4 separate regions of the Homo sapiens genome follow, and regions 1, 2 and 4 are each linked to region 3. Evidence: promoter capture Hi-C in 16 types of primary human blood cells and fetal thymus (Javierre and others, 2016). All regions are on one chromosome and are shown on one strand. Each heading gives the region's core, a stretch centred on a gene start or on the middle of the fragment in contact. The rest is flanking DNA. Distances are from core to core; before and after follow the strand shown.

Region 1 (6,359 bases), core at 943-3,442, 390 kb before region 3:
TTACCATGGGAAAATTCTTACTATTCAACAAACTCTCAGTTGGCCCCCTACAGCAGTCTGGTGTTGAAGTTTCTTTGAACGAACTAAATATACTCATTTTATGTAAAGGTATCCAATTTGATTTTGAAACCAAAATAGAAAATGCAAAATTCTAAATTCCATGAAACATGGAATTTATGACACCAAAATCAATGGAGAGTAAGCAGCAGCAAACTGAGAATTATCCAGCATATGAATATAACAATGTGTTTTTAAGTAATCAATTCATTTAAAAAATTGAATATTAATACAAAGCATATTAAAAACATGTAAATATTACTGGTTCTCATGTCTTTGTATTTATATTTTATTTTGTTTTATTTTGTATAGATCTAGAATGAATTAGTAATTAAACACAAGGGTTTTTTTCCCAAAAAATAATTTTACTGATTTTTAAAAATTTAATTAAAAACATAGATTACAGTAATCTCTAACATTATTCAAATCTTTCTAGGGATTAAATTAGAAACTATGAAGAAATCCTATAATCTCTTAACTGGTCTTTATGGAACAGAATGGGAGTCAACAATTTCAAAATGATTGAACTATGAGTAACCAGAACCTCAATAGAAAATGTATCCCTTCACCTTTCAGAAAAGAGATCAAATAATAACACAATAAGCTGGTATCAGGGATTTGCATTTTGACATTTTGTTGTTTCTTTTTAATTTTGTAGATTATAATCTCCTGTTACATCTATATCCACAGTACTGTAGAATAAGAATTCATGTCCTGAAAATGGTCCCAGGCAATGAAAGAGTCTCAGTTATCAAAGACATTAAGTCAGATTCATTTATTCATTTTATTCCCAAGTCAGAACAAAATGAACTAGTAGGTAATAAAACTATTTTCAGTACTAGGGGTTAAAACAAAAAGAAATTGTTCTAGTTAACCAGAACACCATTTCCTGAACGTTATGATCTTTAAAAGGTTCTGCTTTAGCAAGATAAAAAGTATAAATGATGCTACTTTATTTTGGCAACATGGAAATTTTGTTTTTCTTTTCCAATAAAATCCATATTTTCGTGAAATTTTTAAAAATAAATTTGTATCAAGGATTAGTCTGAATTTTATCATAATAGAAATTTATAATTACTAAGAATTAAATTTTTAATCATTTTTAAAGCTGTGTTCTTCTCTACACCCACAGCCAAAATGGAAATTCACTGTATGGTATTTGGGAATATATTTCACCTGTAAAAGAAAGAATGTCCACAATTCAAACGGTTTTGAGTTAATAGATAGGAATCCCTCAGTCAAACTACAGAATTTTTTTTGTTTTATATATTCTTAGTCAGCAGAGTGTTTGAGCTATAATTACAAGTATTTCCACTTCTAAATCTTCTTTTAGAAAAGCAGATAACTATAATACCTTGGCTCTGCCACTGACTCCTGCCGTATGATATTGGACAAATCACTGCCCTTTTCAGTTTCTCATCTTTAGAATGGGGAGTTGGGATTGCCAGTGGTTTTCAAGCTTTTCTTAACAGCAGGGCTTTTTTTCTAATAAAATTGCACATGGAATCCTGGTAGGCAAAACAGCTCAAAGCAATGCAGGAGTTTCTCCAACAGTTTAAATTGGGGCTCCCCAGAGCATGGTTTAAATACCATAACAGTACACAATGATCTATCATGTGTCTTCCAACTCTGAAGTTCCACAGTTGTAATTTACTCAGATAAACCACCTTTTGAGGCTTTATAAGCAAACTTGTAAAAACACAGTAATTGAATGATATACAATAAAAACTGACAGAGTGTTTACCATGTACCAGTCACTAGAGATATTAGCTCATTTAATTCTCTTATCAATCAAAAAATTGTAAGTACTCTTTTTAATTCCTGTTTTACAAGTGATGACACTGAGGCTTAAATAGAATAATCTCCCCAAAATGACACGGCAGCTGAAAGTAACCCAGCTATTCTGACTGCAAAGGAAACGCCTTAATTGCTTTGTCCACCCTGAACAAAACAATCTGTTTTATGTCACTATACGTACTCCATTTGAATGCCAAGGTAGAAGGCACCATGAAAAACCATTACCAAAATAAGGATAATTCCAATAACAAAACTGTCAAAAAAGAATCACTGCTTCTCAAAATATGATTGGTATCATCACTTATTAATGTTTTGTATCATCACTTATTAATGATTTTGGCTTGGTCACCACTATGCCTGGAAGATAGTAGGCACTGATAAACATTGTTAAACACCGTAACAACACAAAATGATCTACCACATATCAATGTCTTCCATCTCTGAAATTCCATGATTCTACTTTACTCAGATATACCACCTTTTGTGGCATTATAAGGAAACATGTATAATCAAGTTCATACAAGCTATACACAGTAGGCATCGATAAATTTGTATTGACAGCATAAACTTCTAGGGATGAGATTTGGGAATATACATTTTGATAAGTGCTCCAAATTTGAGAATCATTGCTCTAGTAGATCTCTAAGGTCCTTCTTAGTTCTGACATTATATCAGATTTTAAGCATTAAATTCTAAGATGAAAACCATTTTTCTAGTCAGTTTATTTTTCATTCAGTCCACTTAATTTCCTCCAATCTTAAAAAATTTTTTTCCCTAGGAAAATCCCTATCTTTTTCTTAAAGTTACTCTGTTATACTATCTCAGTCTCAAAGTAGCCTGAAATGCATTTTCTCATTTTCATATTTCTGTCCTTTTCTTCAATGTCTTAAAAGACTTGAAGTAGAAGGGAAGTTGCAAGCTGTTATTTATTCAAATACAAAATCCTAATCAATGTTTCCTTCTTTGCAAGGGACATTCAGATCTCTAACTTGTGAGTTGAACCTATTTATTTTGTAAGCTTTTGACTTTACAAACATGTGGTAGCCTCATTCTAAAAGAGTTGCACGAATATTTTTTCTCAAAATAACCACAGGCTGTAAATTAAATTGAACAATACAGTAGAATATGCAGATACATACTAAACAGATGAGTGTGTGTGTATGTGTCTGTGTTTAAGCTTTTCCTTTTCCAAAAGATTATACATTTGAGCAAAATCCCATTCAGTCTAAATGTACTCATTTTGCCACATGGTTTTCTGATCAGCAATTTTTTTAAAAAATGGAAGTGTTACATTATATTTAATAATATCAAAACAAGAGTGATCTCTAAATATAGCTTTGAAAGTTAATATAATATGATGTGTCCATGCAATGAGTCAAATTAGATTGTTGATATAAATGAACAAATCAATCCAAGTTACATTGATTAAAGGGACTATTTGGATGACCAGCCTCACCATCTTTTACTGTGTGCACTTTCCTCTTAAGGTTTTATTGTATTTTCCCTGCTCCTTTAGGCTTTTTTTTCATGTGGAAAACAGTATCTAAATGCCATTCTCTCACTTATGAATTAAATATGGCTACCATTAATGTTCCTTTTTGTCAGTGGAGTGTATGGAAGGAAAATGAGATAGGAGTACATTGCTTAAGTCTCTAAATATTAAAAACAACAACAAAACACTTGCCTTTCTCTTGTGTCATTGCTTCAATGTTCTGTCATCTTCTGCAAGCTAGAGTTGCACTGCTGACATCTAATTAAGATCTAAATATATTTCATGAAGGAATGTCAAATGTAAAGTCTGTTGAGTTGACCATGGTGAACCTCTTGATTGGCCCTCACATTTAATATCTGATTTCTCTCCTAAATGGGTATGTCTATGAGGAAAAGACACCTATTTGTTGGCATTGACCATGGGTATAATAATTTATTCTCTAGGTTTAACTTCTAAAATTATTTTTCCTTTGATTTCTAACTGCCTCCTTCTATCCCTAGAGTAATACCTTGCCTACCTTAAATACATCTTTATCCTTGTAAAAAATGTTTTGGCAAAAAACAAATATATTTTTAAATGTCCCGTAATGTTTTAAAGAAAAGAAGTAAAGTGTATTTGGGCTATGCTCACCAATATTCCAGTATTTTACAAATTGTGTTCTGGAAGATGTTCATTGTGGTCTGAGAACAAATGGTCCTATACTATAATTCTCTCTCCTTGGACATTGACAATAAATGTTAGTGTTTTAATGAAGCTTAAGAAAGTTATTGAATCAGGTAAAAAAAATTTTTTCTAAGCACACCTTGAGAAACCTTTGGAAAAGTTTTCTTTTAACACTAGTTTATATATCCTTCAATAATTGTAAATAAAATAACCAGGAATGCTTTGAAAAAAATGCTTCTGGAATTTTGTTTTAATTTTAAGAGAATTCCTGTCATTTCAAATGAATTGTTATCTATTTTAAATTTCATTAGTATCTCTTAGTGAATTTAACTTTATCATCTAAAATATTCAAAACAAAACAATAAAATTATTTTAATTTTTGTATTATTTTTAAGGCTTGCACCTATGACCAGCATATCAGACCCCTATCTGTTGAAGATGTTTCCAATTCTTTGCCGTGTGGAATTAATGCCAGTGAATAATCTCCAGTAACGTTTTACTAAACAGCTTTAGGAAACTGAATCATGATAGATCAATGTTGACAGTATTTTTACATCAGCTTGTCAGAAATTATATTAAAAACACTTTGGGGAAAGCTAAGAGCAGTGCACTGTTTAGCACAGATTTTGTGAGATTCTATACTCTTTTAATGAGCATTTCATAGGGTTTTTTTTTTGCTGTTTTTTTTTCTTTTTTTGCTTTGCTTTACTTTGCCAATCAGTTACTTTTATACCAAATTAACGAAGTTTCTTTAAAAACTTCCTGGTTAAATTGTCTGTTATCATATAGAAAAGAATCAAACTGAATCACTTTACATTTCTCTAAAGATAGTTCAGTTTTTAATCCATCCAGAGTTTGTGAATCAGCCTGATAGATCATAAGCCATTTATAATTTTTAAACGTTCCATTGAATGAGTATATCATACAAATGTTAATTCCATCTCGCTCATTCAGTTTTACATTACTTTTATGAATTTTTTTTCTCGCAAAGTAAATGCTTGATGTTATTCATTCACCATCACTCTAAGGTATTTTAAATCATACAACAAGTAACTATCACAAGAACCACTGTCCCAAGATCCAAAGTCAGATTTTTTTCCCTTTTCAAGTTGCTAGAATGATAATTCATATAGCTGTGTTGATTTTTCAGGTCAGAATTTAGTTCTTGCTTTGTTAAATGGACATACATGAAAGAGATTGGCTCCTATCTAATTCATATTCTCTCTCTCTCTCTCTCTCTTTCTCTGTGTGTGTGTGGGGGTGTGTGTGTGTGTGTGTGTGTGTGTGTGTGTCTCTTTCCTCTCTGTCTAAGGGGAATTGGAAAATTGCTGCTGAATAATTTTTCTTGAAAAAGCCAAGTGTTGATATGATGATATATTAATCTTATCTATGAACAGAGCTTCACCACAGGCCAAGCAGTAATGTATACAGCTGGCTTTTTAAGCTGTTTGAACACTATTGTTTTCGATTAAAAAGAGTTTTTGTTTGTTTTTCACTTGTATAGTAAAAGATCATATGAATTAAATACTCGGATATTAATTTTCATTCTTACTAAGTGGCCATGTAAGGCATTGATTTTTTTTAAACTTGAACAATGCAAGAATCTAGGAATCTCAGAAAGATTTTGCTGTGTTTCTATAGGTAATGAAATCCTGTCAATTAAGGAAAATGCTGTGTGTAATTTGATTTGGTGGTAGCCTTTATTTAGAGCTCTCTTTGATCTATGTAGCAAAAATACACTAAATTTCTTTTTAATCTTGTACTAAGTACATAATTTCACAAAAATACCTTGGGCATAAAATACTTACAAAACTGTGAATTAAAATACTCAAGATACTTTCAAAATTTAGTCAAAATGTTGATTCCCAGCCTTTTTCCTACACGTCTATTTCAAAAGAGTATACTTTTTTCTGACAGCCATTACTGCTTAGTCTGTAATGAAAGCTTTACTGCTTCTATGCTGTGCTCAAGAGAAAACCAACAACGGAAGCGAAGACTTACTTGCTCCTTCACAGAATTGCAGCAAAGCTCTCTGCTGGGCAATGGTGACAGGAAAGTGTGTAATTGACTTGTTGAAGATAATCATGAGACCATCTTAACATTACTTGCCTTATAAGTTAGAAATAGTATGGATATCACTCTTTGTAAATAATAATTTTTGTAAATGTTTTTTGTTCATAATTTTCCCAATCACCTATTTCACAAAATCCTGAATATGCAATTATTTATTATGACACGTTACTGCAACTAGGGCTCCCATTCCAGAACAAAGTTTAATTCTATATGTAAGTTGTTACTGAAATGTGATTTCTTTTTCTGGAAAATAAATGAAAAATATGAAAATAAATTG
Region 2 (6,835 bases), core at 1,530-4,029, 350 kb before region 3:
GAAAATTCTGAGGCAGGCTGTATGTCTGTACACAAAAGTTTTACTGCCAAAAACTTTGAGAAAGAAACAACACTGATATTTCAAGCAACTGGAAGCTTTTGAATTTTTTCATATTCTAGTAAAGATTTGGGGAGGGGAGGGTAGCCACAGAAAGAATCTTGTTTATCTAAAGCAGGAACTTGATCTTGGTTTTGCTGGATTGCTTTCCATAGACATAGATTCTTATTAAATATTTGTTTTGGTACTAATTATTTTAATTATTCTTTAATTAGAGTGTTACAATTTCCTGCATTGTTTTTTAATAAAAAGAAGCTTTAGAAAAACTATGGCTATATACCCTGACCAATAAATGATAGTAGAATATTCAACATGGTATACACAAATGATAAATAATGTGCCTCAGTGCTGCATATAAAAGAATACTGGTTTTCATTTTGTACTTAATAAATTGAGCAGCATTCATTAAGTGCAATTATTGTTACATGTACCTGACAGTTGAAACTGCTGAGGTAGAATTAATGGCTTCATAACAATTATCGTGGTCCCACGGGCTGCAAGCTAAAACTAGAAGCTCTTGTGGCTTGCCTGCACTTTACACAATTGTGGGAGAACCGAAAGTTGGCTCTTCAGTAATGGAAACTATAAAGTGAATAAAGGCTTTTTGGGACACTGAAGTAGACATTGTGATATTAAATATACATGATGCTTAATACTAAATGTGTCTGTAACACATAAAATCATTTATTGGAAAGAGACATTGCTTTTAAATATCCTAGGCTAACAAACTTTTTCACAAAATATATGGCTGGCACCTTAACAAATAAAGCATGTGTAGTTACCATTTTACTCCTATGAATTTAATACTAAAGTGACCCAGTGAGGTTTTTGAATAGACGGGTGCTAAAATTTACAGGGCTGAAATAGCTTATTATTCTGCTGGTTAATGTATCTTACGCCACGGATCATTTATTTTTATGAAGCTTTCAAGTCTTTGTGTGCAAGTAAAATGATGTTGTGGCGTTGTTCTTGGATGGTAAGTGGACTGCCTAGAGGACATTTGTTAAAGGTCAAAGACAAATTGTACACATATGGAGAAAATTAGCAATGCTGTAGTCTTAAGGAAAAAATGATTTATCATTCATATCAAAAAGAGTTTAGCAAATGGAAAACCAGTTAATGCTTTAATTTTAAAATGTTTTGGTGTCTTACTTTTCCCTAAAAATGACATGTAGTAAAAAATGGATACTTTTAAAATCCCTTCCCTTCTGCTATTTTCTGGCTTTTAAAGTGATTATTCAAAATGAATTTGTCAATTTTCACTTTTTTTTTTCTGTTAGTGCATTAGTGGGAATATGTCTATGTAATAATTTATCACAACCAATATTTGTCAATCTCCATAGAACAGTTTTCAATCTGGATTAGATTACACGTATAACAAGTAAATGAGCTTCATATTTTCATTACACATTGGTGAACATCTCCCTTCGTGGAACAACAGCGGGGGTAATCATATCACTAATTTTGTATGAATAAATGAAAATGAAGAAACTTCTTTAACATATACAAAGTCTATTGTAACAATGACTGTTTGTTTTAGAGTTCTAAATTCTAATCCATGAGATAATTTCTTACTGTCTTCCCCAGGCTGTGTTGAGAATCGAAACTGCAAAACATGACGGCAGTTAAAAAACAAAAAAGAAAGCAGTTTGCCAGCATATTGCTACACACTGTAATTCAGATACTCAGTGATGAATTCTAGCAATTATATAGCAGTATAAGAATACATAGTAAAAACTCACTCCTTGCAACTAACTTGGGAGAAGCTAGTTATCACACAGAACTTTATCATGAGAAATTTTTAATGAAATTATCACACAGAACCTTATCATGAGAAATTTTTAAAACAATGACACTATAAATTTGAAGGAATTGTTTTACTTTGAAATGCCCTGAACTTCCCTGGTATTTTTTTCCTCTCCTAAAGTGCCATCCTTCTTCCCAGACCAGCCATGCCCATCCCTGCTCCAGAGCCTTCACTCATGCTTTCCTACCTTGGAACACCCCCTCCCACTTAAGCCACTTTCTTCGCTTTTCAGGGTCACATTCAGGTCTTACCTTTTCTCTCAGTCCTTCTCTATTCACTGCTTGCCTCCTGCTCTCTCTCTCCTCTGATTATTCTCGTGGTTGAGCTCTTGATTGTTCTCTAGCTAACTTTTGAATTCTAGTTTTGTTTCCCTTACTATTAATAGACTGAAGACATATTGAGGACATGGACCACATAACTTGACAGTGCCTAGAAATAAAAATCATTTTTACTTTTAAAGTTATCATTATGTGCATTGCACTGTGCTACATAACTCCCAGCTGCATAGATAATAGCAAACACAGTTCAACCCCTGAGGAACTAGGATCCTATAGGGGTGAAAAGAGAAGTACACAAGTGACCACAGTATAGGCTCAAATATGTTGTCATAAGAAAAATCCAGAATACATTTATCCAATTAACAGAATCAAGGAAGCCTTCATGAAAGGAAAGAAAATTTAAGCTAGACTGTGATGGAGAGATTAGAATTTCAACAGGCAGAAGATTACAGGAAGCCTAGGCTGGATAAAACACAGTGTTCACGAAGATAAGTGGTTAGAACTAAGATTAGAAGGAAGATGGCCAAATAGGAACAGCTCCGGTCTACAGCTCCCAGCGTGAGCAACGCAGAAGATGGGTGATTTCTGCATTTCCATCTGAGGTACCGGGTTCATCTCACTAGGGAGTGCCAGACAGTGTGTGCAGGACAGTGGGTGAAGCACACTGGGTGCGAGCCAAAGCAGGGCGAGGCATTGCCTCACTCGGGAAGCGCAAGGGGTCAGGGAGTTCCCTTTCCTAGTCAAAGAAAGGGGTGACAGATGGTACCTGGAAAATCAGGTCACTCCCACCCTAATACTGCGCTTTTCCAATGGGCTTAAAAAAATGGCACACCAGGAGATTATATCCCACACCTGGCTCAGAGGGTCCTAAACCCACGGAGTCTCGCTGATTGCTAACACAGCAGTCTGAGATCAAACTGCAAGGCAGCAGTGAGGCTGGGGGAGGGGCGCCTGCCATTGCCCAGGCTTGATTAGGTAAATAAAGCAGCCGGGAAGCTCGAACTTGGTGGAGTCCACCACAACTCAAGGAGGCCTGCCTGCCTCTGTAGGCTCCACCTCTGGGGGCAGGGCACAGACAAACAAAAAGATAGCAGTAACCTCTGCAGACTTAAATGTCCCTGTCTGACAGCTATGAAGAGAGTAGTGGTTCTCCCAGCATGCAGCTGGAGATCTGAGAGCGGGCAGACTGCCTCCTCAAGTGGGTCCCTGACCCCCGAGCAGCCTAACTGGGAGGCACCCCCCAGTAGGGGCAGACTGACACCTCACATGGTCGGGTACTTCTCTGAAATAAAACTTCCAGAGGAACGATCAGGCAGCAGCATTTGCAGATCACCAATATCCACTGTTCTACAGCCACTGCTGTTCTACAGCCACCGCTGTTCTACAGCCACCGCTGTTCTGCAGCCACCGCTGCTGATACCCAGGCAAACAGGGTCTGGAGTGGACCTCTAGCAAACTCCAACAGACCTGCAGCTGAGGGTCCTGTCTGTTAGAAGGAAAACTAACAAACAGAAAGGACATCCACACCAAAAATCCATCTGTACATCGCCATCATCAAAGACCAAAAGTAGATAAAACCACAAAGATGGGGAAAAAACAGAGCAGAAAAACTGGAAACTCTAAAAAGCGAGCGCCTCTCCTCCTCCAAAGGACCGCAGCTCCTCACCAGCAATGGAACAAACCTGGATGGAGAATGACTTTGACAAGCTGAGAGAAGACTTCAGATGATCAAACTACTCTGAGCTACAGGAGGAAATTCAAACCAATGGCAAAGAAGTTAAAAACTTTGGAAAAAAAGTTAGATGAATGGATACCTAGAATAACCAATGCAGAGAAGTCCTTAAAGGAGCTGGTGGAGCTGAAAGGCAAGGCTCGAGAACTACGTGAAGAATGCAGAAGCCTCAGGAGCCGATGTGATCAACTGGAAGAAAGGGTATCAGTGATGGAAGACGAAATGAATGAAATGAAGCGAGAAGGAAGTTTAGAGAAAAAAGAATAAAAAGAAATGAACAAAGCCTCCAAGAAATATGGGACTATGTGAAAAGACCAAATTTACATCTGATTGGTGTACCTGAAAGTGACAGGGAGAATGGAACCAAGCTGGAAAAAACTCTGCAGGATATTATCCAGGAGAGCTTCCCCAATCTAGCAAGGCAGGCCAACATTCAGATTCAGGAAATACAGAGAATGCCACAAAGATACTCCTCGAGAAGAGCAACTCCAAGACACATAATTGTCAGATTCACCAAAGTTGAAATGAAGGAACAAATGTTAAGGGCAGCCAGAGAGAAAGGTCAGGTTACCCACAAAGGGAAGCCCATCAGACTAACAGCAGATCTCTCGGCAGAAACTCTACAAGCCAGAAGAGAGTGGGGGCCAATATTCAACATTCTTAAAGAAAAGAATTTTCAACCCAGAATTTCATATCCAGCCAAATTAAGCTTCATAAGTGAAGGAGAAATAAAATCCTTTACAGACAAGCAAATGCTGAGAGATTTTGTCACCACCAGGCCTGCCCTAAAAGAGCTCCTGAAGGAAGCACTAAACATGGAAAGGAACAACCAGTACCAGCCACTGCAAAAACATGCCAAAATGTAAAGATCATCAAGGCTAGGAAGAAACTGCATCAACTACCAAGCAAAATAACCAGCTAACATCATAATGACAGGACCAAATTCACACATAACAATATTAACTTTAAATGTAAATGGGCTAAATGCTCCATTTAAAAGACACAGACTGGCAAATTGGATAAACAGTCAAGACCCATCAGTGTGCTGTATTCAGGAAACCCATCTCACATGCAGAGACACACATAGGCTCAAAATAAAGGGATGGAGGAAGATCTACCAAGCAAATGGAAAACAAAAAAAGACAGGGGTTGCAATCCTAGTCTCTGGTAAAACAGACTTTAAACCAACAAAGATCAAAAGAGACAAGGAAGGCCATCACATAGTGGTAAAGGGATCAATTCAACAAGAAGAGCTAACTATATATATGCACCCAATACAGGAGCACCCAGATTTATAAAGCAAGTCCTTAGTGACCTACAAAGAGACTTAGACTCCCACACAATAATAATGGGAGAATTTAACACCCCACTGTCAACATTAGACAGATCAACGAGACAGAAAGTTAACAAGGATACCCAGGAATTGAACTCAGCTCTGCACCAAGCGGACCTAATAGACATCTACAGAACTCTCCACCCTAAATCAACAGAATATATATTCTTTTCAGCACCACACCACACCTATTCCAAAATTGACCACATAGTTGGAAGTAAAGCACTCCTCAGCAGATGTAAAAGAACAGAAATTATAACAAACTGTCTCTCAGACCACAGTGCAATCAAACTAGAACTCAGGATTAAGAAACTCACTCAAAACCGCTTAACTACATGGAAACTGAACAACCTGCTCCTGAATGACTACTGGGTACATAACGAAATGAAGGCAGAAATAAAGATGTTCTTTGAAACCAACGAGAACAAAGACACAACATACCCGAATCTCTGGGACACATTCAAAGCAGTGTGTAGAGGGAAATTTATAGCACAAAATGCCCACAAGAGAAAGCAGGAAAGATCCAAAATTGACACCCTAACATCACAATTAAAAGAACTAGAAAAGCAAGAGCAAACACATTCAAAAGCTAGCAGAAGGCAAGAAATAACTAAAATCAAAGCAGAACTGAAGGAAATAGAGACACAAAAAACCCTTCAAAAAAATTAATGAATCCAGGAGCCGGTTTTTTGAAAAGATCAACAAAACTGATAGACCGCTGGCAAGACTAATAAAGAAGAAAAGAGAGAAGAATCAAATAGATGCAATAAAAAATGATAAAGGGGATATCACCACTGATCCCACAGAAATACAAACTACCATCAGAGAATACTACAAACACCTCTACGCAAATAAACTAGAAAATCTAGAAGAAATGGATAAATTCCTCGACACATACACCCTCCCAAGACTAAACCAGGAAGAAGTTGAATCTCTGAATAGACCAATAACAGGATCTGAAATTGTGGCAATAATCAATAGCTTACCAACCAAAAAAAGTCCAGGACCAGATGGATTCACAGCTGAATTCTACCAGAGGTACAAGGAGGAGCTGGTACCACTCCTTCTGAAACTATTCCAATCAATAGAAAAAGAGGAAATCCTCCCTAACTCATTTTATGAGGCCAGCATCATCCTGATACCAAAGCCTGGCAGAGACACAAACAAAAAAGAGAATTTTAGACCAATATCCTTGATGAACATTGATGCAAAAATCCTCAATAAAATACTGGCAAAATGAATCCAGCAGCACATCAAAAAGCTTATCCACCATGATCAAGTGGGCTTCATCCCTGGGATGCAAGGCTGGTTCAACATATGCAAATCAATAAATGTAATCCAGCATATAAACAGAGCCAAAGACAAAAACCACATGATTATCTCAATAGATGCAGAAAAGGCCTTTGACAAAATTCAACCACCCTTCATGCTAAAAACTCTCAATAAATTATCTATTGATGGGACGTATCTCAAAATAATAAGAGCTATCTATGACAAACCCACAGCCAATATCATACTGAATGGGCAAAAACTGGAAGCATTCCCTTTGAAAACTGGCACAAGACAGGGGTGCCCTCTCTCACCACTCCTATTCAACATAGTGTTGGAAGTTCTGACCAGGGCAATTA
Region 3 (6,430 bases), core at 3,886-6,385:
TCACTAGTGCCAATTTGTAACATTTCCTGGTTTTATAAAACCTCTAACCTATTCTTTGTTCTTCAGAATATACTGAAGACTACTGCTCTGTGTGTATGCCCTAATTGCAATTATTTCCTCCCAAATAAATATTTTGATTTTAGAGATTAGTCTCTATATTTTATTTGACATTGACAGGGTAAAGGCATTAGCATAATGTGAATGCTGATGACTTTCTGGATTTCTTACAGGACAATAGGGGACAGATTTTGAAAGAGAACATACATTATGATTATGTGGACATATTTTCTTTTCAGACCCAAGAAACATCCCTCTTGTAAAACTAAACTAAACTAAAACTCTCCGAGGAGTTTTAGCTTTTGTGTTTCCCTTAAACATAATATGAGTTCAAGAGGGGGAGAAGGCTTTCATATTCCCCACCTAAGTTTATTTTACTGGAGACAAAGATTTCTATTTTTCAGCAAGACACAGGTAAATAACTGGAAGAATCAATGTATTGAAGTGAATGAGTTTCCCAGTTTGGGGAACGTATAAACTACATGAGGGCCAGCTGAAACAATGCTGCTCATTTGTGAGAAAGAACAGAAAGCAGATCTTTTTACAGTAAGGTGTCCTACACCTCTCACTTTTAGTCACCCCATCTTCAACACCACATAGGACATTTTAAGAGGCAAAATGTCATCCCATTATACACACACACATACGCACATGCACGCACATGCACACACAGCTGTATTTTTCTATATACAGTTAACCATAGCATGAAATAATTTTTATGTTTTTGCTTTAAAAATAGTTTGCTAAGAGTAAATTATTTGGCTATGAATGATTTCTGGAAAATCACTGTGCAGATCATGAATTTTTTTGAAGTGAGAAAAACTAACCAATTATTTTCAAGGGTCAACAACAGTTTTATGAATACTAAATTTGCCGGTTAATGAAATTGACTGAATGTTAGTTTTGTAGTATTAATTTCATATTTTGAAACTAATACAATTTTTTCAGTTTGCAAATTCTTTTCTCCCATCGGTCTTTGGCAATGTGCCAATGGTGCCTAATGGATAAATGGCCCTGGGAAAAAGTGGAGGTGAGGAAACACTATAGATTAACTTGCTTGCTTTCATCATTATATTTCATAAGTTCATCAAGGGCCTATTTTGTGTCTCCTCAAATAAATGCTGAGAGCAAAGGAACATCAGTACTAATATGATGGTGTTCCCCAACTACTTTGCATAAACTAACTACTAATCTTTTAATGCAAAATGAATCAAGACGATATTAAATGGGCTGGGCGCAGTGGCTCATACCTGTAATCCCAGCACTTTGGGAGGCTGAGGCAGGCGGGTCACTTGAGGTCAGGAGTTTGAGACCAGGCTGGCCAACATGATGAAATCTATTAAAAAAAGAAAAATACAAAAAAAGAAAAGAAAATTAGCTGGGCATGGTGGTGCATGTTTGTAATCCTAGCTACTCTGGAGGCTTAGGCAGGAGAATCCCATGAACCCGGGAGATGGAGGTTGCAGTGAGCCAAGATCACACTACTGCACTCCAGCCTAGGTGACAGAGTGAGACTCCTTCTCAAAAACCAAAAACAAACAAACGCAATGCCATCAGAGCTGTCTTTCTTAAACAGGACACTGATCAGGACCAGTTCCAGCCCACAAACCTTGGCTTGCTCTCATAACCTGAAGAATACCCAAACTCTTCAGATGACATATGAGACCATCCAAGAAAAGATAGTCCAGGATCTGGCTCAGCCCACCTTTCTAGTTTATTCCTCCTTCCCCTTTCTGTTCCACCATTTTCTACCACTCTTACTTCCTGGACACGTCCTGCCCTTTTCTCAAGCACACCATTCACTCCTGCATTTCCTTCTACTCAGAATGTTCTCCCACATGTCTTCCAGTCAAAAGCCTACTCTTTATGAAATATGGTATGAAGACTACCTCTTCTTTTTTTTTTTTTTTTTTTTTGAGATGGAGTCTCGCAGTCTAGGCTGGAGTGCGGTGGCACAATCTTGGCTCACTGCAACTTCCACCTCCCGGGTTCAAGTGATTCTCCTGCCTCAGCCTCCTGAGTAGCTGGGATTACAGGTGCCCGCCACCACACGCAGCTAATTTTTGTATTTTTGGTAGAGATGGGGTTTCACCATATTGGCCAGGCTGGTCTCAAACTCCTGACCTTGTGATCCGCCCACCTCGGCCTCCCAAAGTTCTGGGATTACAGTGCCCAGTCATGACTACCTCTTCTATGAAACTTTCCTTGGCATTGTCTCATTCCTTGTCTCGGTGACAGTCTATTTATTGTGTGCTCCTGGCCTCAAGCAATCCTCCAGCCTCTCAGCCTCCTGAGTAGCTGGGATTACAGGCAAGAGCCACTACACCAGGTTTTAAGAGGTTTACTCGCTGGGCGTGGTGGCTCACATCTGTAATCCCAGCACTTCAGGAAGCTGAGGCAGGTGGATCACTTCAAGTCAGGAGTCGAGACCTGCCTGGCCAACATGGTGAAACCCTGTGTCTACTAAAAATACAAAAAAAAATTAGCTGGTCATGGTGGCGCACGCCTGTAATCCCAGCTACTTTGGAGGTTGAGGCAGGAGAATAACCTGAACCCAGGTGGCGGAGGTTGCAGTGAGGTGTGATCGTGCCACTGCACTCCAGCCTGGGTGACGAGCGAGTCTCCATTTCAAAAAAAAAAAAGAGGTTTACTCTTTGACAGATCTCTTCCTTACTGGGTTGAAAGCTCATTTGAAGCAAGAATTGACTTATCCACCTCCGACTCTCAGCCTCAGGCAAAGCGTTTTACATCTAACGGGGATTTGAAAATTACAATTTAATTTGGAGATGTCTCTGAATATAAATTTTTAGGAAGAGTAATCCTAGTTTATCTGTAATAAATGATGTTACTTCATAATGATTTACTGGAAGATGAAATAAAAAGTTGAGTGTATTATTATAAAATGGGGTTATTGCCAATCTAAACTTGGTAAAATTGTTTTGAAAGGAAACTTGGATTTATGTTCTTAATTTCTAGCACAGTAGTGACAGTTTTTTGTTGTTGTTTGTTCGTTTGTTTTTAAAGAACACAATGAAATAGAGGCCATGCCAATTGGGGCAGAATGAATTCCCAATTACTCTCACAGTGAATCATCTACAGGCCTCACTGCAAAAACTTGCTCTCAACAAAAATTGTAGGTCAATATTATTAGCATATCAGAGACTAAGTCATATCTAAAATAAAAATGTCTTAAATATTTTAAGAGAACAATTTTATTTTAACAGCACCTTTGGGACTAAAAACAAACAAACAAAAAATAACAAAACCCAGTGTCGTCAATATAATAGGCTCAGCTGAGAAGAGTTCTTCAGCAAGTTCTAAACAACTCAGGAAAACTAAGAATCTCTAAAGTTACAAACTAAAGGCCTGAGAAATTATCTAGAAAATGCAGGCTTAAATTAAAATTCACTTCCATTATGTGGCTTTATCAGTTCAAATGCTTACTCCTTGAGGACGAGGCCACTTCTTACACTCTTATCTGACACAGTCCACTACTGAGACCACAGTAGGGACTCACTTCATCTGTTAAATGATTAATGTTTACTCAATAATTAGATAACTGGCTGAGTTATCTCCATCTCACATTCCAAGGATAGACTTAGGGGAATCTTTTTTCTTTAAATCTAAAATGTTGATAAATGGCCCATATTATAGGCTGAATTATGTTGCCCCTAAATTCGTATGTTGAAGTCCTAGGCCCCAGGATCTCAGACTGTGATTGTATTTGGACATACAGCATTTAAAGAGTAAAGTTAAAATGGGGTTGTTAGGGTAGGCCTCTGGCCAGTATGACTGGTGTCATATAAGAAGAGGAGATTGGGACACCGAGGATACACAGAGGAAAGTCGTTGTGAAGATTCAGTGAGAAGGCAGCCACCACCCCAAGCCAAGGAGCGAGGCCTCTGAAGAAAACAACCCTGCCCACCTCTCCATTTCCAACTTTTAGTGTCTAGAACTGTAAGAAAACAAATTTCTGTTGTTTAGCCACTCTGTCTATGATGTTTTGTCATGACAGTCCCAGCAAGCTAGTACAGCCCAGGCACTGAGAACTAATTTAAAAACCCGACCTATGTGCTTAGTTCCGCATTATGCATTTTCTTGTCCCTTATTTATTTATTTTTATTTTTGAGACGGTCTCACTGATTCTGTCACCCAGGCTGGAGTGCAGTGGCTGCGATCTCAGCTCACTACAACCTCCGCCTCCCAGGTTCAAGCGATTCTCCTGCCTCAGCCTCCCCAGTAGGTGGGACTACAGGCGCCCACCACCATGCCCGGCTAATTTTTGTATTTTTAGTAGAGACGGGGTTTCGCCACTGTGGCCAGGCTGGTCTCTAACTCCTGACCTCAAGTGATCCGCCCGCCTTGGCCTCCCAAAGTGCTGGGATTACAGGCGTAAGCCAACGCGCCGGCCTGGAAGGGAAGTTTCTAAGAAAAACTACTAAGGAATTTTAAAACTATGATGTACGTGGATTGTGGAGTATTATTGTGGGCGACTAATCAGATAATGATTGCAAGAATTGATTAGCCAGCTCGAAATCGCAGCACAATTACCGCAGGGGCGATCAGCTTCCACCATCCATTCCAGGATGTTGGGAGTCGTCAATTTGGAAATGTATCAATTAAGCGGCCCCCAGAGCCTCTCGCATCTCTTGCCCGGCCCCGAGTCACCTTCCCCCAGGTGCCTCCATCTCGCTGGAAACATAGGAAGCCCGACTCAAACGCTCTATGCCTATGGTCGTTTCATGGGAAAGCAAAATTAAGGGCAACATTGAGGAAGCTCATTAATATTTAGTTTAGAAGATGCAAAGGGTTCTTCCGCGAACCTGGAAGAGCCCCCCGGGCTCGCCTCTCGCCGCGGTCCCACACTTGCCTGACCTCAACCACACTCTCCCGGTCCAGGCCCCGCTGGAGAACGTCCCACCGACTCCGGGGACAGAAAGGCCGTTTATGTAAAACGACGTTTTTCCTATTTCGCCTCCCACCCTCATGCAAATTTTGATTTTCAACTCTTCCAACCCTTCCGCACCCTGAAACAAACCTCATCTCCTTTCCTCCCTCTTCTGGCTCCGCGGGTTACTCGCCCCGCCCCCACCCTTCAGTCCCTTAGCAACGCGTCCTCGGTCCGTAGAAACCGGTTGCCGAGCTCTGCCTACCTCTGAAAGGCCTAGAGAGCAGAGTTCTCTTCTCAGAGGGGCTTCGCCCACAGACTTTTGTCACTAAAAGCCCAGGTGACTCCCCAGATGCTTACGGATATTAAAACCGATTATGCTGAAGGAGTGGAAGGAGAGTCAAGTAAAAGAAGAAGATCAAGTAAAAAGAACTGGGGAACAGTGACTTTGTTTCCCCTTATTGTACCTCCTTTCTCCTTTTGTGCTTTCCTGGAAACATCGAATTTCAAAAAGAAGCTTACAAAGTCCACCATACAGCTTGCAGGTCTGAATGGAAGTCAACAGTTTATATTTGAATATTTGATGGAAGATTGCTTTCATGGCTTATGATATTAAAAACAGCAACAACAAAAAACCATTCTTATTTCCAAGGCCAAGAAACCTCCCGTGTGGTTAGTAAAATCACCACTGTATTACGCAAGTTGTGTAGCAGACTTGGCTGCACACACACATACCACTTAGCATTTTTATGAGACATAATGGAGATACACTGACATACATTCTGCTGTATTTACTGTATCCTAAGGAACCATTTGTCCTTATTGCTCACTTGTGTGAGCAGAAAATGCACTAAGGCCATGGGAATCATTTATTTTTAGAGCCATAATCTAAAAATGACTGACTTGAAAACAGCTTGTATTTAATTTAAAATGATGGGGAATTTCACAATATTGGTTACATTTTAAGTCAGGGGTTGTTCATCATTCCAAGAATGTACCTTATCTGATGCATCAAAATAGGGGGAAAAGCTTTAAAAAACAGCACTTCAACATCTGTGAGAAGAAAAGGAAAAAAAGCACCAGAATTAATCATCACAAGTCTGTGCTAGTGGCAATGGCAAAACTGCAAAAAAAAAAAAAAAAAAAAAGTATAGTTATGTAGCAATCCAAATTTGGCTAGAAATTGATATTAATAGTCAATGCATGAAAACACTGGAATCAATTTATTTCAAATATTTAAAAAACAAAAATACAATCATTAAAAGTAGAAGGTAGTTTGATTCTTTTCTGTTGCCCAGACTGGAGCACAGTGGTGTGATCATAGCCCACTGCAGCCTCAATCGCCTGTGCTCAAGTGGTTCTCCCACCTCAGCCTCCCTAGTAGCTAGGACTACAGGTGCATGCCACTATGCCAGGCTAATTTTTTTATTTTTATTTTTTTGTAAGGACAGGGGTCTCACTATGTTGCCCAGGCTAGTCTTGAAC
Region 4 (7,023 bases), core at 1,054-3,553, 350 kb after region 3:
TTAGTTAAGTGCTAGAGCTAAGTACCTATCACATAAACATTCAACAAATGTGTTGCTGTCATTGTCACAGGTAAGCTACTGTACCCCACTCATACCTCAGATGGCAGTGAAGGTGGGGATATACACTCCCTGGGCAGGGTTCTCCCTGAAGTCAGGGTATAGCTTGAATTACATACTTTAATTCAGAAGCCATTTTTATACCAGGCTTGGTTGGACACTTTACTTACATCATTGGCTTTGATCTTCCCAACAAACTTAAGAAGAATTATTGCCCCCATTTTATACACATAGTAACTCAGGTTTAAAGACATCAACTGACTTACCCAACCCCGTGAAGCTACTACTATTCCTAGGCCCATCCCTGAGATCCTGATCCAGTAGGTCAAGGTAAGGTCCACGAATCTGTATTGCAGTTTCTATCCTCCACTCCTTCCTCCTGCTTCCAAGTTCTTTTTCTTTTTCTTTTTTTAAAAATAGAGATGGGGCCAGACACGGTGGCTCATGCCTGTAATCCCAGCACTTTGGGAGGCCGAGGCAGTCAGATTACCTGAGGTCAAGAGTTCAAGACCAGTCTGCCCAACATGGTGAAACCTTGTCTCTACTAAAAATACAAAAATTAGCTGGGCATGGTGGTGGCTGCCTGTAATCCCAGCTACTTGGGAGGCTGAGGCAGGAGAATCACTTGAACCCGGGAGGCAGAGGTGTGCCAAGATCACGCCACTGCACTCCAGCTTGGGCAACAGAGTGAAACTGTGTCTCAAAAACAAACAAACAAACAAACAAAATCGAGATGAGTTCTCACTATGTTGCACGGGCTGATCTCAAACTCCTGTTCTCAAGCAATCCTTCTGCCTCGGCCTCCCAAAGTGCTAAGATTACAGGTGTGAGCTACAGTGCCTGACTCCACTTCTCAACTTTGAAAAGAGTGACCCCTTTACTATACGTTGGATAACTTTGGCCTAGATGATCTCAAAGGCTCTCTCTGTCTGCAAAGTCTGTAAAGATGAGAAAGTCCATATATGCAAAGCGGACAGTTTAGTGAGGAAGGCAGTTAATGTAAACATAAAAACATGTTTTTAATAAGTGAACTAATCCAGTTCACACCACTGGTTCCTTGATACAGTCATTCTCTAACAAGCAAAATGGGGCTGAAAGTATGCTGAACTGATGTAAGGTGTGCTGAGCTTTGACAGGTTCACTGCACCTTCACAGAGTACCTTGGACCTTTCACAAATACGTGTTCTGTTCATCCTCTCATCTTAGAGGTATCCAAGAACAGGACCTCGTCTTCGAGGTACCACCACTAGAGATAGCCTTCCCAGGGGCTGCCAGCTTTAAACTCTACAAAGCCTATGACATCATTTGGAATCAAAGTGGAAAAGTCATGGTAATAGTAGTTGTAATCAAATCAGTTAGGAATCTTTTGGTGACACATGTCAGAAAATCCAACCCAAAAATGACATGACCTAAGCTGGGCACAATGGCTTATGCCTGTAATACCAGCATTTTGGGAGGCTGAGGTGGGTGGATCACTTAACGTTAGGAGTTCGAGACCAGCGTGGGCAACATGGCGAAACCCTGCCTCTACCAAAAATACCAAAAAATACAGCCGGGTGTGGTGGTGTGTGCCTGTAGTCCCAGCTACTCTGGAGGCTGAGGTGGGAGGATCGCTTGAACCTGGAGGCAGAGGTTGCAGTGAGCCGAGATTATGCCACTACACTCCAGCCTGGGTGATGGAGTGAGAGTTTTTCTTAAAAAAGAAAAAAAAAGAGGCTGGCACAGTGCCTTGTGTCTGTAATCCCAGCTACTCGGGAGGCTGAGGCACGAGAATCACTTGAACCCGGAAGGCAGAGGTTGCAGTGAGCTAAGATTGTGCCACTGCACTGCAGCCTGGGTGACAGAGCGAGACTCCATCTCAAAAAAAAAAAAAAAAAAAAAAAAAAAAGAAAAGAAAACAGTGGAGGCTCTTGCTGAACGTAGAGTAAAGGAATGTTGCCAATAAATTTCAACAACAAACCTTTGAGCTCTTACTATGTGCCACACTCTGTGCTAAGCACACTAGGTGCATGACCCCATTTGATCTGTATAAATGACTCAAGAGGGATGCATTCAGATTAACCTCATATAATGGACGAAGAAGCCAAGGCTCAGAGACGTTAGGTAACATGTTCAAGGTCACATAGCTAGTAAGTGGTAGAGCTGCGTTTGAGCTAGTTCTCTCTGATTCAACATCTATTCTTGTTCCATTTTATGAAGCTGCCTGGGGCATCAGCTTCCTCTAAGGCATATAGACTGGAAACATCAGAGTCTTTCTCAACATTTCTTCTTCATTTTCTACATCCAGTTAGTCATCAAATTCAGTGGATCCTACTTCCACCAGGTTTTGTGCTGTCTGTTTCCATGTTTGGTTCCCATTGCCACTGCCCTAGATAAGGACTTGGTCACTTCTTCCTGGACTATTAAAATAGTTTACTCTTTTCTCAGAGACTCCACACAGGTGGTCTGAGAGTCATTTTAACTTACAAGTTCATACTTAAAAGTTAGAGTCCTGGGCGAGGCACAGTGGCTCTTGCCTGTAATTCCGGCACTTTGGGAGGCCGAGGTGGGCAGACAGCTTGAGCCCAGGAGTTTGAGACCAGCCTGGGAAACATGGTGAAACCCCATCTCTACTGAAAATACAAAAATCAGCCAGGTGTGGTGGCACGTGCTTGTAGTCCCAGCTACTTGGGAGGCTGAGGTGAGAAAATCCTTTGAACCAGGGAGTTTGAGGCTGCAGTGAGCTGTGATCGCGCCACTGTACTCCAGCCTGGATGACAGGGCAAGACCCCGTCTCCCAAGAAAAAATAAATAAATTTAAAAAATTAAAATTAAATTAAATTAATTAAAAATAAAAATTTTAAACAAGTTAGCATCTCATGAAAATCTGTATTGTTTGGCTTTCCCTGAAAAATGGAAAAATCTGATAACACTGGACTCATAATCTACATGGCAGCATTGGCTGGAACTGAGCAGCGGCAGCCCACTGATGAGAAGGTATGTGTGGTTCAGTTGACCAGGTACCTATTGCAATTTTGTTCCTTGTCTGCCCTCTGTAGGCATCTGAGTGTGCAAACCTAGTAGTTAGTCTCTCCCCATTTAAACCCATCCTCCTGTAGACCCTGCAGTTATCTTCCTAAACCATGATCTCAGTATTCTGAGTATTTCATACTCAATTTTCAGATCATATTTATTTATTTGTAGAGACAAGATCTTGCTCTGTCCCAGGGTGCTGTGGTGTGATCATAGCTCACTGCAGCCTCAAACCTCTGGGCTTACCCAATCCTCCCATTTCCGTCTCCCAAGTAGCTAGGACTACAGGTGTGTGCCACCATGCCCAGCTAAGTTTTTAATTCTTTGGAGAGACAGGGTCTCATTATGTTGCCCAGACTGGTCTCAAACTCCTGGCCTCCAGCAATCCTCTTGCCTTGGCCTCCCAGAGTGAAAGAATTACAGGTGTGAGCCACCGTGCCCAGCCGCAATTTTCACATTTCATAGTTCCTCATTGACTACAGATTCATTACACACTTGGTCCCAATCTACTTTTCCAGGCCTATCTCCAACTGTGCCCACATGTCCTCTGCTTCAGCCACATCCTTCTAGAATCTGCTCAACACCCCTTCTCCCACAGGGTTTGCTCAAGCCTCATTCTCTGGGCCTCTAATGTGCTTTCTTGGTCCTCTCTGTGCCTCCTCAAATCCACTCTTTGAATGATGCCCACATGACTTTCAATGACCAGTTTGATTCCTACCTCTTCCAAGAAGCCTTGGGTCTTTTCGATTTATTTATTTGTCTATTTTTAAATTTGAGACAAGGTCCCACTCTGTCACCCAGGCTGGAGTGCAGTGGTGCGATCACAGCTCACTGCAACCTCCGCCTCCCGGGTTCGAGTGATCCTCCCACCTCAGCCTCTGGAGTAGCTGGGACGACAGGCACATGCCACCACACCTGGCTATATTTCTTTGTATTTTTGGTAGAGACATGGTTTCGCCATGTTGCCCAGGCTGGTCTCAAACTCCTGAGCTGGGATTACAGGTGTGAGCCACTGCACCCGTCCCATGTTTTGTGAATTTTACCACATCTGGGGAAAAAGAGTGAGCTAACGTCTATCAGGCACACAAAGCAAGGCATGGGGTTGGGGTTTGATAGGAGGTGGGGAGGAGATTTCTGGTAAAGAAAGCAAGGTTGGGAACCAGTGAGGTAGCTCAGAAAGGCTGGTGTTATAAAGTGCTTGAGGTTGCCGGGGGCAAGGCCTGGGCCTCAGAGCAGCCAACTAAGGTTCCAGAGGCAGATGGGAAGCACATAGCCTTAGAAGCCCTTCCCAGTAGCTCAGACTCTGTCCTGCAGGGAATGGGGCACTGGTAACAACTTTCAGGAGGCCTGCAATGTGCTATGAGTGTGCTTTTTCTTCCCCTTTTTCTGTTGAGACAGGGTTTCACTCTGTCACTCACAGGCTGGAGCGCAGTGGCATGATGATGGCTCACTGCAGCATTGACGTCCTGGGCTCAAGTGATCCTCTCACTTCAGCCTCCCGATTAGCTGGGAACACAAGTGTGTGCCACTGTGTCCAACTATTTTTTGTTGTTGTTGGTAGAGATGGAGTCTTGCTATGTTGCCCAGACTGGTCTTGAACTCCTGGGCTCAAGGGATCCTCCCACTTTGGCCTCCCAAAGTGCTGAATCACCACACACGCTCAAGTGTGCTTTTTAAGAAAGATCAAGCCTTCCAGTGTAATTTAATGATAAAAAAAAGAAGGAAAGATCAAGCTTATTCCCTTATGCAGGAGGGTAAAATTAGCAGAAATGTGGAGACAATAAGGAAATTATTTTAACAAGCCAGGTGAGAGTTAGCAAGGAGCTGAGAATGTGACCATCATCACATGCTACAGAGCAGGATATCTATGTCATTTTTGTTTGTTAATTTCATTCATTCATTTAAAAATTCTTTTAATGAATGAAAGCAGGTTTCCATTTTGTGCCAGGCCCATTATTTGCTGGTGCTGAGGACATAGCTGTGGACGACACAGGCATGGCTCTGGTCGTTCTAGAGCAGACAGTGTGGCCAGGAAGGCAGACAATAAACTCATGATGATACAATTGATGAATTACAATTGTGAGAGGTGTTATTAAAGGACAAAGTCAAGGTGCTAGCTCCTGCTGTGACTTGCACACTGCCCTGCAGTCAGACAGCCCTAGGTTCAAAGCCTGGTTTCTCTACCACTCAGGGGAGAGGCCTAGAGCTAGTTTCTCAGGCTCTTCCAGCCTCGGTTGCCTCATCTGAAAAAGTGGGTAGCAACAGCATGCACCCACAGGGTGGCTAAGAAGGATTAAGCTTAGCACTGTAGATGGAACTGTCCACGAGTGCCTCACAGGCAGCAGAAGCTCAAGAGGGGTTAATTGACTCTTCCGCAAGGTGGGCACGATAAATCCTGGTTGGATAGAATCATGTAATTAACCTTGAACCCATCAGTCCCTGGCAATGTGACTGAAGATCTTGAGGCATGCTGATCTGAAGCATATAAAGTAGCCAGTTTCTGCCGGGCGCAGTGGCTCACGCCTGTAATCCCAGCACTTTGAGAGGCTGAGGTGGGCAGATCACTTGAGGTCAGGAGTTTGAGACCAACCAACCTGGCACATGGTGAAATCCTATCTCCGCTAAAAATACAAAAATCAGCCGGGCATGATGACACGTGCCCATAGTCCCAGCTACTAGGGAGGCCAAGGCAGAAGAATCGCTCAAACCCAGGAGTAGGAGGTTACAGTGAGCCGAGATGGTGCCACTGCACTCCAGCCTGGGCAATAGAGTGAGACTCCATCTAAAATAAATAAATAAGTAAGTAAATAAATAAATAAATAAAGTAGCCAGTTGATCTGTGAATAAGCCCTTTAGAAAAGCTCATTTTTGAGAACAGCAGGTCTGCTTCAACATTGTGAAAAGTGCTAGCCTCCCTCTGTTCCACCCTCAACCCCCAAACAAGGCTTCTGCCAGGCATGTAGGAAACAGCCCTGGGTTTTGGTTTCTCCCAACGGTTCATCCCCTAAGGGGGAAGACATTCCCTGGCATATTAAAAAATATCCCTTTTGCAGGGCGTGGTGGCTCACACCTGTAATCCCAGCACTTTGGGAGGCGGAGGTGGGTGGATCGCCTGAGGTTAGGAGTTCGAGACCAGCCTGACCAACATGGTGAAACCCCGTTTCTACTAAAAATACAAAAGTAGTCGGGTGTGTTGGTGCATGCTTGTAATCTCAGCTACTCCGGAAGCTGAGACAGGAGAATCACTTGAACCGGGCAGGCAGAGGTTGCAGTGAGCCAAGATGGTCCATTGCACTCCAGCCTTGGTGACAGAGCAAGACTCTGTCTCAAAAAAAAAAAAAAAAAAAAAAAATTCCTTTTTTGACCTTCAGAGGCCAATGTGTCCATATTCTTTGTAACTCCAGTGGAATTTATATCTGCCAAGGTCTTTCTCTTAGAAGGTTCAGGCCTAGTCATAAACACCCTTAAACACTTCTGTCTTCATCCAACAGGCATAGATTGAATATTTGATTGACATGTGCCAGTCACTGTACTAGGTGCTGGGATTATAATACAGAAAATAATGAGACCCATCCCAGCCTCAAAGGCATCCTAACCTTGTGGGACGTTAGAAACATAAATGAATCAGTGCTATCTTTGTTTTAAGGGCTAGAATCAAAATTGCACAGGCCATAGGGTGAGTGCACAGAGGCAAACCAAGGCACCTTGCCTCGGGGAACATTCCAGGCTGTCAGACCAAGACCAGGCTCTGGTATCTAGCTCTTGATCTGCTGCTTGATGATAATAACTGTTACTTATTGACCACGACTATGCCCAAGTCCGTTATTTATGAATCAGAAGATTTCACATTGAAATTTTGAAAACAATTACAAGATAAGAAAAACAGCTCTAGGTTGGGTGTGGTGGCTCACGCCTGTAATCCCAACACTTTGGGAGGCTGAGGTGTGGATGGCA

Evidence for each region. Contacts are between HindIII fragments. The CHiCAGO score rates a contact against its expected background, and 5 or more counts as called.
Region 1: a fragment that was not itself captured here is called in contact with the fragment with the promoter of C1orf141 in region 3 in 6 of 17 cell types (total CD8 T cells, total CD4 T cells, naive CD4 T cells and 3 more); the score reaches 7.7 in total CD8 T cells.
Region 2: a fragment that was not itself captured here is called in contact with the fragment with the promoter of C1orf141 in region 3 in 1 of 17 cell types (naive CD4 T cells); the score reaches 5.1 in naive CD4 T cells.
Region 4: a contact is called between a fragment that was not itself captured here and the fragment with the promoter of C1orf141 in region 3, in 2 of 17 cell types (naive CD8 T cells and activated CD4 T cells). The highest score is 5.6, in naive CD8 T cells.

Annotation. Positions count from the first base shown.
Region 1 is chr1:66,744,768-66,751,126 of GRCh38, forward strand. SGIP1 (SH3GL interacting endocytic adaptor 1) reads left to right here. Exons shown (of 25, transcript NM_032291.4): 25 at 1-6,359. Among named protein-coding and RNA genes, the nearest start is that of DYNLT5, 4.5 kb to the right of the region's middle. The HindIII fragment of the contact is 1,356 bases long and covers 1,515-2,870 here.
Region 2 is chr1:66,777,485-66,784,319 of GRCh38, forward strand. It overlaps DYNLT5 (dynein light chain Tctex-type family member 5), which reads left to right. Exons shown (of 5, transcript NM_152665.3): 5 at 1-1,563. Among named protein-coding and RNA genes, the nearest start is that of INSL5, 20 kb to the right of the region's middle. The HindIII fragment of the contact is 3,603 bases long and covers 979-4,581 here.
Region 3 is chr1:67,129,835-67,136,264 of GRCh38, forward strand. C1orf141 (chromosome 1 open reading frame 141) reads right to left here and starts at 5,136. Exons shown (of 8, transcript NM_001276351.2): 1 at 5,096-5,136; 2 at 1,308-1,393. The HindIII fragment of the contact is 7,094 bases long and covers 1-5,460 here.
Region 4 is chr1:67,486,761-67,493,783 of GRCh38, forward strand. No RefSeq gene overlaps it. Among named protein-coding and RNA genes, the nearest start is that of LINC01702, 32 kb to the right of the region's middle. The HindIII fragment of the contact is 4,993 bases long and covers 1-4,800 here.